3 separate regions of the Homo sapiens genome follow, and all the other regions are linked to region 2. Evidence: promoter capture Hi-C in 16 types of primary human blood cells and fetal thymus (Javierre and others, 2016). All regions are on one chromosome and are shown on one strand. Each heading gives the region's core, a stretch centred on a gene start or on the middle of the fragment in contact. The rest is flanking DNA. Distances are from core to core; before and after follow the strand shown.

Evidence for each region. Contacts are between HindIII fragments. The CHiCAGO score rates a contact against its expected background, and 5 or more counts as called.
Region 1: a fragment that was not itself captured here is called in contact with the fragment with the promoter of PXDNL in region 2 in 1 of 17 cell types (activated CD4 T cells); the score reaches 5.4 in activated CD4 T cells.
Region 3: a fragment that was not itself captured here is called in contact with the fragment with the promoter of PXDNL in region 2 in 1 of 17 cell types (total CD4 T cells); the score reaches 5.4 in total CD4 T cells.

What each region holds. Positions count from the first base shown.
Region 1 is chr8:52,068,074-52,071,073 of GRCh38, reverse strand. No RefSeq gene overlaps it. Among named protein-coding and RNA genes, the nearest start is that of ST18-AS3, 120 kb to the left of the region's middle. The HindIII fragment of the contact is 1,320 bases long and covers 922-2,241 here.
Region 2 is chr8:51,807,565-51,810,788 of GRCh38, reverse strand. It overlaps PXDNL (peroxidasin like), which reads left to right and starts at 1,344. Exons shown (of 23, transcript NM_144651.5): 1 at 1,344-1,608. The coding sequence starts at 1,445. RefSeq lists enhancers at 927-1,448, 1,449-1,971. The HindIII fragment of the contact is 1,936 bases long and covers 1,199-3,134 here.
Region 3 is chr8:52,093,666-52,097,025 of GRCh38, reverse strand. No RefSeq gene overlaps it. Among named protein-coding and RNA genes, the nearest start is that of ST18-AS3, 99 kb to the left of the region's middle. The HindIII fragment of the contact is 4,858 bases long and covers 1-3,360 here.

The sequences.
Region 1 (3,000 bases), core at 332-2,831, 260 kb before region 2:
TGTCGCTGTAAATTCCATGAGACAGGTGAAAAACTGTGAGTTCCCAAAGTGTGAGGGGGGAAACCTACCTCTGAAAACACATCCCCACTGGAGAACCTGAAAATCCAGATCCCAGGAGAAGGATTTAACTTTACCTGGAGCTGAAACGGATTTAGGGAGCCATGCAAAACATAAAAGTAGAAGCAGCAGCAGGAAGAGCCTTGTAGGCACTCCCAGTATCCAGCCTGGGCCCAGGGAAGACAACCCTGACTATATCTCACAGGGGCCTTGGGGAAGGCAGCCAGTGGAATTAGGGAGGGGTCACAGGGTGAACGGGGTAAAAGAAGTTTCCAGCTGAATTTTGTAATAATTTTGACTGAGCACAAATTTCCTTGAGCAGAATCTGGGGATTGAATGGGAACTGTTGCAGATATGAGCACAGGAGCCACTGCTGGTATTGTGGGCAGATGAGGAGGGATGAGGCCTGAAAGCTGCACTTGCTTTCTCAGGAACGAAGCTTATGGCCTAGGGCAAGGTCTGAGTCCCATGCACTGGCTGCCTGGTTCTAAACTCGTCACTGCTGGCAGAGCACTGCAGGAGGAAGACCGGCCTCGCCAACTGCATGGGAGCTGAGTGGGGCCAATCACTACTGGCTTTCCCCCATTTCCCTGGCAAGCTAGATGGCACAGCAGAGGCAGCCATAATCCCCTCTGGAACATAACCTCATTGGCCTGAGAACAATCTTTCATCCCCCATAGTGGCTGTGGCAAGCCCTGCCCAAGGAGAGTCTGAGCTCGGACCTGCCTAACCCTGTTCCCACCTGATGGCTTTTCTTTACCCACCCTTGCAGCTGAACATAAAAGACATAAACCCTGGGGAACTTTATGGCCCTGCCCACTGCCTACCCTGGCCTTACTCATCCTGGCCAACTTAGGGCAAGCTTATATCTCCCTTCTACGACTGCAGCTGGTGCTCTCTTGAAAGTGCCACTTCCTGGCTGGAGGCCACCAACTCAGGCCGTTACAGCAAATCATGACAGAATAACTCTACTCCCAAGAAATAGGGTTAACAATAGCTAATTCCAATGCCTGCAACCAGAGGTCCTGAGCCTACCCATGTATCAACTTCACTACTAGAATACCCAGCATCTGAGAAAGCCAGCACACTAAACACATCTACAACCAATGACTGTCACACAGTCTACTTCACTCTCCTGCCACCTCCATCAAAGCAGGTGCTGGTACCCATGGCTGGAAGACCTGAAGACAGATAACATCACAGGACTCTTTGCAGACATTCCCCAGCACCAGCACAGGATAAGGTAGCCCCACTGGGTGGCTAGACCCAGAAGAGCAATAACAATCACTGCAGCTCTCAGGAAGCCCCATCCCTAGGAAAAGGGTGAGAGCACCACATCAAGGGATCACCCCATGGGACAAAAGAATCTGAACAGCAGCTTTTGAGTTCCAGATCTTTCCACTGAAATAGTCTACCAAAATGAGAAGGAACCAGAAAAGTAATTCTGGTAATACAACAAAAGAAGGTTCTATAACACCCCCAAAAAATCACATGAGCTCCCCAGCAATGAATCCAAACCAAGAAGAAACCTCTGAATTGCCAGAAACAATACAGGATATGAATGAAACAATACAGGATATGATATGAATGAAAAATTCTCTAGATAAATAGATAACATGAAAGAAAAAACAACCATAACTTCTTGAAATGAAAGCCACACTTAGAGAAATACAAAATGCACTGGAAAGTCTCATGAATAGAATCAAACAAGTATAATAAAGAAGTTCAGAGCTCAAAGACAAGGTTTTTGAATTAACCCAATCCAACGAAGACAAAGAAAAAAGAATTTTTTAAAAATGAGCAAAGCCTTCAAGAAATTTGGGATTATGTTAAATGGCCAAAACTAAGCATAATTGGTGTTCATGAGGAAGAAGAGAAATCTAAAAGTCTGGAAAACTTACTTGAGGATATAATTGGGGAAAACTTCCCTGTCCTTGCTAGAGATTTGTACATCCAAACACAAGAAGCTCAAAGAACACCTGGGAAATTCATTGCAAAAAGATTGTCACCTAGGCACACAGTTATCAGGTTAACTAAAGTCAAGACAAAGGAAAGAATTTTAGGAGCTGTGAGAGAAAAGTATCAGGTAACCTATAAAGGAAATTAGGGTCTGGGGTTCTATCTTTAGCCTCCTCAAACAAAATAATTGTCAGCTGAGAATTTTATATCCAGCAAAACTAAGCTTCATAAATGAAGGAAAGATAAAGTCTTTTTCAGACAAACAAATGCTGCAGAATTGGCCACTACCAAGCCAGCACTATAAGAAATGCTAAAAGGAGTTCCAAATCTTGAAACAAAACCTCAAAATACACCAAAATAAACCTCCTTAAGGCAAAATTCTCATAGGGTCTATAAAACAATAACAGGATTAAAAAAACACAAGGTATTAAGGCAACAACTAGCATGATGAATAGAATCATACCTCACATCTCAATACCAACACTGAATATAAATGGCCTAAATCCTCCATATAAAAGATACAGAATGGCAGAATGAATTGAAAAGTCCATCAACCAAGTATCTACTATCTTCAAGAGACTCACCTAACACATAAGGACTTACATAAACTTAAGGTAAAGGGGTGGAAAAAGATGTTCCATGTAAATATAAACTAAAAGCAAGCAGGAGTAGCTATTCTTATATCAGACAAAACAAATGTTAATGCAACAACAGTTTAAAAAGACAAAGAGAACATTATATAATGATAAAAGTCTTACTCCAACAGGAAAGTGTCATGATTCTAAATATATAGGGACCTAACACCAGAGCTCCCAAATTTATTAAATAATTACTAGCAGACCTAAGAAATGAGATAGACAGTAGCACAATAATAGTGGGAGACTTCAATACTCCACTGACAGCACTAGACAGGTCATCAAGACAGAAAGTCAACAAAGAAACAATGGACTTAAACTATACCCTAGAACAAATGGACTTATCAGA
Region 2 (3,224 bases), core at 95-2,594:
GTATTTTATATATTTTATATTATTTATATTTTTTGTATTTTATATTTTGAACTGCAAACAAGGCACAAACCTGCAGGTCTTGTCTATGTCCTCCAAATCACAGGCACTGCCAAGAGCATAGTGATTGTTGGGATTTAAAGGAATAAATTTCGTTTTTTGGCTTTATTGGTATACTTGGACAATAAAAGTCATGTGAACAATGTCAAATGTAAAGTTTAAAATAAATCATTCTTGTTCATGGAGATTAGTTTTGTTTTTTAGATCTTTTTACATTTTAATCTCCCCAAAATCACATATTTAGATATGAACATTTTGCCAAAAGAGGGCAGTATTCGCCTACAGTAGAATGTAAAGGGACTGAAACATTTCTGCAGAGACAAGGATGAACTTATTTTCCTCTTAAGATTGGTCTACTAGTCTGATCATCTGGGATTGACCATGCAAGTTTTAATTTGTTTTCTATTACTTTTATGGATTTAAAACATTTTTGTTTGAAAATGTTAGTCTTTAAAGATAAAGCCAAAAATCTGTTTAAAAATACCTGCTTACAGAATGACCAAAAAGTAGATGTTTTCATATTTATTAAGTTTTCAGACACGTCCTCAACGAGGTGCTGCTCACTTCAGGGAAAGATGGCCAGTTCAAACTGCTGATGAAAAGTCTGCAACCAGCAAGACCACTGCTGCCAGTGTGTCCTGAGGGAGCTTGCATCTGTTTGACTTTACATATACATACTTAGGTTTGTCCATCAGTTGTATCCTCTTGAAGGAGGTATGTGAGTTCATGGTTTTAAGCATATAAATTTAAACGTTAAAAGAAGAAATCAGAAGTAGCCCGTTTGAGTCTTACATGAGTGAAATGTGTTGGGTTTCAGCAGCAGAATATATAGAAGGAAATGAAACAATTTTTATTAAAGAGCATAGTTTGGAATAAAGAAAGAATATGTGCACCTAGATGAACGAATTAGAACTCTGCCTGCCCTTTAGGGTTTGGTAATGTTACCAGATAAAAAAGAAGAAAAGCTGTTCTGCATTGTTTCAATACATTCTTAATCAACTTGGGCTTCAAGAGGACAGCTGGAGGCTAAGAGGTCGGGTTTTTCATCAAATGCGCAGTGGAAGTAATTTTGGAAAAGTTTGTTTGCATTATGCTGCCTAAAACACGGTGTTTTAGAAAGAGGCTTTTGCATTGAAAAGCTTCTCGTCCTCGCCTCTGGGAGTCTAGTGCTTCCTAGAGCTGCTTGTGCCCTCAGCCCTGTAATGTGATATCCCTCCTCCTGGATTGGTCAGAGGGGTGTCCTTTCCCTGGGAGCTGCTTTCCACCACGGCTCCCAAACTTGGCTCAGTCCAGCAGCCACCATCACCACCACTGCGGTTGCTGCTGCAGCTGCAGCTGCTGCTCTCCCTCCGGCTGCTTCTTCGCGTGGCCAGCAGCGAATGGAGCGATGGAGCCCAGACTGTTCTGCTGGACCACTCTCTTTCTCCTGGCCGGGTGGTGCCTGCCAGGGTTGCCCTGCCCCAGCCGGTGCCTTTGCTTTAAGAGCACCGTCCGCTGCATGCACTTGATGCTGGACCACATTCCTCAGGTACCACAGCAGACCACAGTTCTGTAAGTTCACATAAATTCCCCAGAAACCCTCTTCCCCAATGCTTCATTGCTTCTCTGCTAGGACCTGTGTCCTTTTAATTTACGATTCCTAATGCTCTCCCTGCTTGTATACTTAGAAGAGGCTTTTCACTTTTCAAACAATTTCATGGTTCTGCTCTGTTAGACTAGAAAATGTAAGCAATGATGAGTTGACATAAATATATTTGTTTTGGATTCAGTTCTCTTCCAGCATCTTCCAGAACTTAGCATTGAGAATTCTCGTCTTCATTCTTCCTTCAATAATTTTCCTGCATACTTTCTCAATTTATTCCTATTCATCCTCTACTCCCAAGTCTTTGGGCCTCTTAATTGGTCAGCACGTGTCTGCCCCATTTGGAAGGAACTAATTTAACTTTAGAGTGTGGTTTCAATTGATTATGTGCTGACAAATTGTTAGGCTTTGTACTGTGTGTACCTCCTGGGAGGGTGAAGTCCTGAGCCCTCAGCACTTGAAGCACTGTCTGTCTCCAGAACAGACCCTCAAATGGTCCAGTAGAGTTCTTGAATGCTTAAAAGCCTTGTGGAGCAGCCGCTTAGACTAATCGGCATCTAGGAGGCATTACGGGATAGTAGGGCAAACCAGAATTTGGAAGTCAAACAGGTCTGAGTTCAAATCCTATCTTCTCATCTTTAATATTCAGATAATAAACCCAAACATTTAGATTTATTTAGATTAAATTAAGTCATAATTAGATAATTAGAAGGGCAAATCACCACAAAAGAAGAAAAGGATCTGTTTCTAGGGTCTATTTTTAAAGAAAGAAAAAGACGACAAATTCAAAAATTTAAGAAAAAATAAAAGAAGAAAAGGAAAAATGCTGAAAGATGCAGACTAAAGAGGTTTCCTGCTCTATAATAAATATTTTGTGGGTTGTGTCATGTTCATGGAAGACAAAACTGCTTGCAGTGTTTCAAGTCCATTCTTGGGCAGAGGGAAATAGCTTAAAATTCCTGGAATTTTGAGATATAAATGTTTAAGAGGATCATTGCCACACATTTGTCAGTCATAATCGTGAAATGAGGACTTGGTAATAAAAAGTCCAATTTGATGGTATTTACATAGAAAATGACATATTATCCATAGATTTTCATTTCTATAAAGCATTTCATTAATTTTATATGCATGCAGATATCAAAATACGTCTTACTGTAATAACTGAAAGGATTCTTGAACTTGGGAGCACTGCTTATTGCTATGTGGACAGCACAGTTCTGCAAGTGCCTTCAGACTCAGAACCAGCCATTTGTCCTTTTGTAATGACAGTTTTTTGGTAGATAGCAGCAAAGCCTTGGAGAAGGGGCTGCTTGTCTAATGAAGTATCTTGGAGCTACATGAGGTACAACTCGACCTAAATTTTGTTTCCTAGGTGTTTCAAAGAAGAGATTAGCTTGCATTAGACACACACCTCTAAATGTAATGAGCAGAACTGAAGTGATGTTGTCAGTGTTGTCATGCAGAGCCTTCCACTATGTTTAAAAATAAAGCTTAATGGTGGATTCTCAGGCCCTTGGCTAGATTCCTGTCTGGGAGTCTGGTGCCACCACTTACAAAATGTGTTGCCTTGGACAAATTCTTA
Region 3 (3,360 bases), core at 217-2,716, 290 kb before region 2:
TTACCTCCGTAGACACGGGCCAAGTGCTGCCAATGAGGAAAAGGTGGGATCCCAGGAAAGAGATGCTGAGGTGAAATTTGCATGGAGAAAACTTAATGGGGAATGCCCTTGGGATCAAGTCCTAAGGAGTGAGAAGAAAGCAGGATAGGACAGAAGGAAGAGTTGAACCGTGATGTAGTCACCACCAAGATCTTGGCTGAGTCAAGGGAAGCTCTGGAACTGAGACAGCCTTGTAGAGCTCTTTCACTTTGAGGCAAGGGGACTTGCCCTTTGTAAACCCAGCCATCCCAGATAGATGAGTCCTTAGACTAGCAGCCCAGGAAAGGTTATACTACCTGGTCAAGTCAGCTCGGTTCTAGAAAGGGACTCAGCTGCCAGGGGCCAGTCACCCATACTCCCAGCAGCTGGGAGCTCAGTGCTTCGCCCTGGCCGTTAGAGACCTGGGTGGTGCACACAGCATGCACCTCAACTGCATTCCATTCACCAAGAAGCCTTCTTTCTCATCACTACATCGCAAAGCAGAATGTAGCAAGCAGTGTGATAGAGGGAAAAAATATCCTCAAAATAATGCTCTGAGAGCACACAAGAATAACTCTGATGAGATCAAAGAAAGCCCAGTGGAAGCAATAGCATTTGAGCTGGAATTTGAAGAATAAATGGAATTTTGGAAAACAGGATAAAAGATGGGCATTCTAAGTGAAGGAAACAGCATGAAAAGAGGAAAGATGTAACATGCAGGATGGAGTTTTTAGGTAAATATTGAGTGGTACAAACTGACTAGAGTAAAGGCAATAAAGGAAAAGAAACCAGGTGTCACAAAAGAATGGTGAGAGAAGACAGGAGGAAGCCTGGGGCCTACAATAAGGAATTGTGACATATCAGTGACACTCAGCAATGAGGTACAGTGAGCTAATAAGATGGACATTTAACCTGTAAAGTCTGTTTTAGTGCACAGTCTGTCACAAGATAAAACAATAGCTCTGGGCAGCATTATTTATAAGTATTAGGAACATCCTCAAGTTCTAGCTTCTGAATCATTTGGCTATTGAAGGAAACTGTGATTTAACTCAAGTCTCTACCACATATCCTATGGGCATTCCAGCACCTTCTCCAATACATATTAGGGTTCTCAGAAAGAGTACGTTCTTCTGGTCGCCACTCACTCTAAATTCCTGCCCCACAAAATTTCTGGTCACTGCTCAAAGCAGTCACAGCTGCTGGCCTTGTTCCACAAGACCTCTTCCATCATGAACCCAAGCAGTGCCCTCCAGGGAGGTTGATGACTAGCCTAAGATCACAGGGCCACCAAGATGCTGGCCCAGAATTAAGACCAGGTTTCCCTGACCCCAAGCCCAGCTTTTCAATCTTTCAACATTAGTGGTTGCAAAGGGGGAAAAATAAAACTCCCAGTACCATGTACAGATTTTACTGTTTTAATGTTTAATGTAACTTTTAAAGAAGACATATTATAATGTCTAATATATATTCACTACAAAGATGTGTGTGGCCATCTACTTATTATAATAGAATTATGAATTCTTTTCTCTGATTCACATTGTTTGCCTTTAATAAAAGATAAGGAATTTCATATATCCTTAGGAGAGTCACTTTAGCAACAGTTGGATAAATAATATAACATTATAAAAGCCTACAATTTTGTTACTAGTTCATAAACTATTCATTTTGTTTAAAAAATCAGAGTAATAAATGGCTACAATTTCAACAATATAATTTACAGTAATAGACTCATTCTCTTTTCCCTCAATAGAAAAGCTGAAAGAAGTGCAAAGTCTGTGACTGTGTTTAATATATATTGCAAGCAGCTCTTCTTTACTGTATTTCAGGAAGGATTCAGGAAAAAAAAAGTCTCCATATGTTTCTCTTGTCTGACTTCTAGTGGAAATAACAATAATCTTTTTCATTGTTATTTAATATCTGTTTGCATTTTTTTCTTGCAAATTCTTCTTTGACATGCAAGTGCGTTAGCAAGTAAATATAGAAAAGAAATTACACAAAGAAACACTACAAACAGGTTTTTAAAAATGTTAATCATTAAATATACACATTCTTTATCAGCAGCCATTTCTTTACATAGCAAATTGTTTATCCTGCCTTCCTCCAATAGTTCCCGAAGAATTTTCCTAACACCTATATATTTTTATAAAATTTTTATCATTAAACAGAGGAGTTGAAAAACCTGATCAGTAAAAACCTTCTTGAAAAACTAGTCTGAAGAAAAAAAATCTGTAATTTTATCCAGAAAAAACATATTACCAGGTGCTTTTGTGTGTCCTACTGTTCTCAGAAAACATGAAAGTTGGATGTGAATCTTGTTTTGATTATACATGCCAATCTGATTTATCAGAGTGCAATGACGAGGTGGTGTGTTAAAGTAGGACAGCTCTGGTGCAGCTAGACATTTTTACACCTACCCTCCCCCCGCCCCCCATTTTTAAAATTGCATTTCCCAAAACAACAAAAACAGCAAGGATTAAAAGAACCCAAAAAAACAAAAAACAAACAACAAACAAAAAACCACGAGCATGAAGAATACTACCCAGTGAGAGAGATCTCTGTACAACTGCATAGGTTTTGCTCTGGCTCAATGGTACCTGCAAGACATGAATGAGGGTAAAATCTAGTCCTAACCAAACTTACGTCCTGGTCTAGGCTGTGGCACAAGAGGAAATGGCTCTGCCTTCTTCTAATTCATCTACTTAAAAGGGGCTCCCTACTTGGGAGGCTGAGGCAGGAGTAACCCTGGAGCTCAGGAGTTGGAGTCCAACCTGGGCAAGAGAGAAAGACCCATCTCTACAAAAGCAAGGGGGACCACTGTGTGTAATTCACTCAAAGGAAGTCTTTGTCCTCTCAGTGGCCTTAAAACAAGAGTAAACAAAAGAGAAGAGCGGTGAGGAGTGTGATGTTTACAGTGGGTGAGAGAGACCTGCCAAAAAAAAAGACCAAGAAGTACCAGTCAGAAATGTAGAAGGCCTAGGCCAGGTGCGGTGGCTCATGCCTGTAATCCCAGCACTTTGGGAGGCTGAGGTGGGCATATCACAATGTCAGGAGTTCAAGACCAGCTTGGCCAACATAGTGAAATGCCATCTCTACTAAAAATACAAAAATTAGCCAGGCATGGTGGCACGTTCCTGTAATCCCAGCTACTTGGGAGGCTGAGGCAAAAGAATCGCTTGAACCTGGGAGGTAGAGGTTGCAGTGAGCCGAGATCACACCACTGCACTCCAGCCCTAGCAACAGAGTGAGACTCTGTCAAAAAAAGAATAAAAAGAAAAAAGAAAAGAAAAGAAAAAAGAAATGGAGAAGCCCTGGGAAAAAGACAGTATCATGGAATTCAGAGAA